Regions from separate parts of the Homo sapiens genome. Here region 1 is linked to region 2. Evidence: promoter capture Hi-C in human tissues and cell types (Jung and others, 2019). All regions are on one chromosome and are shown on one strand. Each heading gives the region's core, a stretch centred on a gene start or on the middle of the fragment in contact. The rest is flanking DNA. Distances are from core to core; before and after follow the strand shown.

What was found. Contacts are between HindIII fragments. The study calls those that stand out against the background at their distance.
Region 1: a fragment that was not itself captured here is called in contact with the fragment with the promoter of SS18 in region 2 in 1 of the 25 tissues and cell types used here (dorsolateral prefrontal cortex).

Annotation. Positions count from the first base shown.
Region 1 is chr18:24,291,785-24,294,484 of GRCh38, forward strand. The region is part of intron 14 of OSBPL1A (oxysterol binding protein like 1A); the gene reads right to left. Among named protein-coding and RNA genes, the nearest start is that of MIR320C2, 29 kb to the right of the region's middle. The HindIII fragment of the contact is 3,744 bases long and covers 1-2,700 here.
Region 2 is chr18:26,089,310-26,092,226 of GRCh38, forward strand. SS18 (SS18 subunit of BAF chromatin remodeling complex) reads right to left here and starts at 1,304. Exons shown (of 11, transcript NM_001007559.3): 1 at 1,192-1,304. The coding sequence starts at 1,260. RefSeq lists an enhancer at 1,639-1,758. The HindIII fragment of the contact is 6,350 bases long and covers 1-2,917 here.

The DNA of each region.
Region 1 (2,700 bases), core at 106-2,605, 1.8 Mb before region 2:
GAGATTGCCTGTAATTCCAGCACTTTGGGAGACTGAGGCAGGTGGATCACCTGAGGTCAGGAGTTCGAGACCAGCCTGGCCAATGTGGTGAAACCCTGTCTCTACTAAAAAATAAAAAATTAAAATAAATTAAAATAAAATTTAAAAAATTAGCCAGGCATGGTGGCAGGTGCACCTGTAATCCCAGCTACTCAGGAGGCTGAGGCAGGAGAATCACTTGAACCTGGGAGGCAGAGGTTGCAGTGAGCCAAGATTGCGCCACTGTACTCCAGCCTGAGCAACAGCAAAACTCTGTCTCAAAAAGAAAAAAGAAAATATCAGAAGTCAGAATAAATTGCAATTGCATCTTCAAAATGCTAGTGGAAGATAACTATAACCCAGTGAGGGTGAAATAAAGATTTAGATAAGGTAGAAATTCTTCTACTCACAGACCCCCAATGAAAGAATTACTCAAAGATTTGCCTCAGAAAATAAAACAGAATTCAGGGGAGAGGAGTAGGATATAAAAATCAGTGGCATTAACTGTGGAAACCCTCTTGGCAAAAGAATGCAAAATATGCCACAGTTCTGATGGTTTCTTCCCTATTTCATGTCTCTAAAAGGTCTCTTTGACTTGTACACTCGTTAAATTTACTAACTTGACAGAAATTTATTGTTTCTCCCTGAGTTTGAGAGATATAAGGTATAAATTTAAGCTAGATAAGTAGGTCATTCATTTCACTCACTCATTCATCACACACAGAGAGAAAGAGAGACGGCGAGAGAGAGGAGAGAGAGACCCCCATCACATGCCAAGTTCTGTTGAGGTACCAAAGATAATCGGCAAACAGGTAAAAATCCCTGCCCTGAAGTTTATACCACGGTGGGAAAGGCAGACAATCAACTACACACACTCATAGGAAGTCTGATAAGTAACAAAAGAGAAACTGCAGTAAGGTAGAGGGGTAACAAGTGCTGAGGGGAGGTGAACTTCACAGAGGATGAGGTACCAGCTAAGGGTCTCAGCAGGGAAGAGCTGGCCTGCTCAAAGGTAACTGAGGTCTGGGCACAGTGGCTCACGCCTGTAATCCCAGCACTTTGGGAGGCTGAAGTGGGTGGATCACTTGAGGTCAGGAGTTCAAGGCCAGCCTGCCCAAAAGGGAGAAACTCCGTCTCTACTAAAAATATAAAAATTAGCCGGGTGTGGTGGCTCGCGCCTGTGGTCCCAGCTACTCAGGAGGCTGAGGCAGGAGTATCGCTTGAACCTGGGGGCGGAGGTTGCAGTGAGCCAAGATCGCACCACTGCCTCTAGCCCAGGCGACAGAGAGGGACTCCCGTCTCAAAAAAAAAAAAAAAAAAAAAAAAGAAAAGAAAAGAAAAAATTAAAACGTTAACTGAGAAGAATTTGAAAAAGAGATTGCTCACAAAGGTGAGGAGGGTTGAAGTAACAGAGACTGGCGTGCGGGACACAGTTACCATCCTGGCACAGAGGGGGAAAGGGGAGAGGACAGTATTGCTAAGCCCAGCAAGAGCTGGAGTCTAGATCAGGCCAGTGGCCAGGCAGAGGAACCCGGCAGCACTGCGGAACCACAGTCCGGCTGGAGAGAATGAAGGTAAAGCCCTGAAACGACTTCCTCTCCCGTCCCTCCGCAGGTCTCCCGACAGAGCCTCCCATTTGCTGAATCCAATCACAAGTCCGAGGGCCAAGAAGCCCCAGGGCTGAGGCTGCAGTACACAAAGCAGGGCAGAGCAGACGAGGAGGAGCAAACCAGCGCAGGAGGCCAGGAAAATCCTCTGTGTGCAGGCACCTTTTGAAGAAAGACCTAGGGAAGGAAGGGAGTGACTACGCCACTCAGGAGAAAAGCCTTCCAGAAGAGGGAACAGCACACGAAAGGCCACTGGCAGGCGTAGGCCAGGCCAATGAGGCTGGAGAGGAGCCAGAAAGGGAACTGGGAGGTGGGGGGCTGAGGGGTGGAAGGGGCTGGAAGGCTCTGCAGGTCATTAGAATGACTCTGTCTCTCACTCCAAGTGAGAAGATCTGGAAGCCACTGGATGTTTCCAGCAAAGGACCTCAATCCACTGACATTTTGGGAGGATTTGGGGCAGAAGCTGTAGGGGGAAGGGTGAAATCTGGGGACAGCAAGTAGGTTTTCAGATGTCCACGTGGGAGGCAATGGTGGCTTGGACCAGGTGGCAACAGAGAAAGTGGTAAGTTTGTTTACTCAAAGCCCAGATTTTGAGGAAACAGTTTTAAGTAGGCTAAATAGAAGTGCTTTTCCTCTCAGATTTTTTTTTTCAGTTTTATTTTCTTGAGTTCGACTATTTTGCTTTTATATTTCAATAGTTTTGGGGGAATAGGTGGTGTTTGGTTACATGCATAAGTTCCTTAGTGAAGAAGTCTAAGATTTTAGTGCACCCATCACCTGAGCAGTGTACACTACATCCAATATGTGGTTGTTTTTTTTTTTGGTGGTGGTGTTGTTATTGAGATGGAGTCTTGCTCTGTTGCCCAGGCTGGAGTGCAGTGGCGCGATCTCGGCTCACTGCAACCTCCTCCTCCTGGGTTCAAGCGATTCTTCTGTCTCAGCCTCCTGAGTAGCGGGGATTACAGGTACCCGCCACCAGGCCCAGCTAATTTTTGTATTTTTTTAGTAGAGACGAGGTTTCACCATGTTGGCCAGGCTGGTCTCGAACTCCTGACCTCAGGTGATCCGCCCGACT
Region 2 (2,917 bases), core at 54-2,553:
GAGCTGTTTGCCAGGCTGCAGACTTAACTCAGAGCACTATATGAAAGCACTGCATTTCCAGGCACTGCCAAGCCCGTTTGTTCATAAAATAAAGCAACAGTTGGGCAAATGTCAAAAGCCACACTACGAAGAACCTGACAGTAAACAGAAACCGATTAGCATAATCTACGTGGTCTGAGTGGTACTAAAACTTGACCTTTTTTTCTATTTTGATCTTTGCTACACAGCATAAAACAAAACAAAAATATTTAAAGTAAACTGCTAAATACAGCAGCAACTTCTGAAAGTCTAGGTCAGTAAAATTTAGAATGCTGCCTTGCTTGCAGGCAACAAGGGGTAGAGGACAATAAAGAACCTTTGTGTTCCGACTGGCAGTAACACAGCAGCGACTGCAGCAGCTCTATCCTTTAAAAAGGAGGCAGCTCCCTGTGTATTTATCACGACTTACATTAACTGGTCACGACAGTCTCCACCATTAGACTGTAAGCTCCAGGAAGGCAAGGACCATGACTCACCACAGTAGCCTCAGCGCCTAAAATAGGCGCTCAATAAATATTTGCTGCAGAATAAATGAATAGGCGGCGATGCAGAAGGGAAGAAGAGGCTCTGGGGACAACCCCAGAGTCCATGGGGACCTTCCTTGCCCGCTCCTCAAACTCTATACTAAGGTTCCCTCCAGCGTTCCCCAAGTCCTCCTGCGAGCTCCCAAACTCGGCTGAGTTTGCAGGGCGGCGACCAGCGCACCGACTTCCCCTCTGCCTGCCGCGACCCGCGGTGGGGTCCGCACGAAGCAGCCGCGGCACGCGGGGCGGGGCGACGCCAAAGTAACTCCGGAGCAACGCGCGGGGCCGCCGGTCCGACACACGCCCTTCCCTGAGCGGCCGCCGCCGGGCGCACGCGCCCCGCAGCCCGAACGCCGCCCCATCCCTAGAGAAATCAGGCGGCGGCTGTTTGGGCTTTTGTGTCTGTAGAAAAACGCGTAAATGCGTGAAAGACTCCGAGAAAAACCGGTTCACCCTCTTCCGCCACCCACTCAGGCACAGCCAGCAGTCCGTGTTCCCAAACACTGCTGATTCCCAGCAGGCCCGCCTCCGCCTCGGCCCGGTCGACTCCGGGCCCGGCCCTTCCCCCCGCGTCTGTCTCTCCCAGAGGCGGTAAGGGCCTGGCATCCGCAACCCCGCGCGGTTTCACCTTCTGAATCGCAGCGGGAGTGATCTCCCCCTTGCCTCGCTGCCTCGGGGCCGCGAAAGCCACAGACATGTTGCCGCCGTCACCACTATCGGCAAGTCCCGAGCGCTCCGGGTGAACGGCAAACTGGGGGAGAGACGCCGGCCTCTCGGGCTGAACCACCTCGGGAATGCGGGGAGGGGGGATGCTCCGGGGCCAAGCGGACGGGCGGCGGGGCAGGCCTGAAGGAGGCACTCTGGCCAGGGATGTCTCGCTTCTGCGCACTCTGGGGGACCCCTAGCCCTGGCCGAACTTTCTTGACCGTCCCTGCATCCCCCGAGCTCTCCTTATGGGCACCCCCTGGCCCTTTGCGCTAATGGTAGAGTCGCGCCCTAGTCCTCCCTCCGCTTCAGCGATTCAGGAAATGGTCCCGCCGCCGCGGGAGAAGGAGAGGCTGGGGCAGCCCCTGTCACAGGAAATGCGAGCGGCCCAAGCCGGCCCGCCCCCTTCGCGCCGTGGCAACTTGCCTCCCTCTCCGGCCCTCTGAAGCGTCTCCCCGACTGTGTTGCAGAGCGTGCCCTAGACCTAGTTCAGTTTTTCCAACTTCATCCTTACTTACGCCTCCTGGCAAGAGTGGCCGCCCCGAGTTGTCCCGGCAGCCCGGAGAGGGGAGGGAGGTCAAGACTCGGGAGTTCGTGCAAATCCGTGGAGCATCTGCCGAGATAGGGCAGAGGTGGAAGGACAAGGTGAACGCGGATTCGCTGGTTTAAATGGCTCGGCTACGCCCCAAATGCGCACCTCCGAGTCCACAGTCTCGCACGCACGCACAAAGTCGTGCCTAACAATTGGAAAGTAACCCTGACCCGAAACCGGGACACCAAGGTTGTGTCCAGTGCTCAGGGGCAATCGGCCAGCTTGGCTGGAGCGGACAGAGAAGAGCTCGCCTCTTGGGACAAACCCTTAGCAGGAAAGTGGGTCGATTTCGTCTGACTTGGCTTTTTGGAATTAAGTTGTGAAACAGGGCATCCTCACTCTCTGTTTTTTAAGAGAGTACTTACTTAGTGCCTTGTAAATTAGGCCCAAGCTGCCAGGCTTCAAGTCAGTGTAAGGGAAAAAGGCAAAGTTTTCAAATTATGGAAGGAACACGGACAAATGTGGGTTTTGTGTTGCCGTGGGGTTTTAAAGTATTCTGTAAATTTAGACTTCCATATAACACAAAGGGAAAGTTTATATAAAGTGTTACCCAACGTTAATGAATAATAAAAAATATTTCCATTTTTATATAAATTGGAAAAATAAAGAAAAAATACATTATTTTAAAAATTTAATCACTTGAGGCCAGGAGTTTGAGACCAGCCTGGGCAACAAAGTGAGACCTCTGTCTCTACAAGAATTTTAAAAATTGGCTGGGTATGGTGGTGTGCACCTGTAGTTCCAGCTACTAAGGAGGCTGAGGTGGAAGAATCACTTGAGCCAAGGGGGTGGAGACTGCAGTAAGCCATGACTGCCCCACCACACTCCACCCTGGGTGACACAGCAAGACCCTGTCTCAAAAAAAAAAAAAGAAAAATTAAGTATCAAATAAATGCTCTTCACAAAAATGTCAAGAATGTCATTGATTAAATGCATTGTTTGTTAGGCTTTATACTGGAAACCTAGGGTACGATTGTGAATAAGCTGGACATGGAACCTCCTCTCAAGGAGCTTATACACTAATGGGACTAACAGACCAGAAACAAACAAATATGTA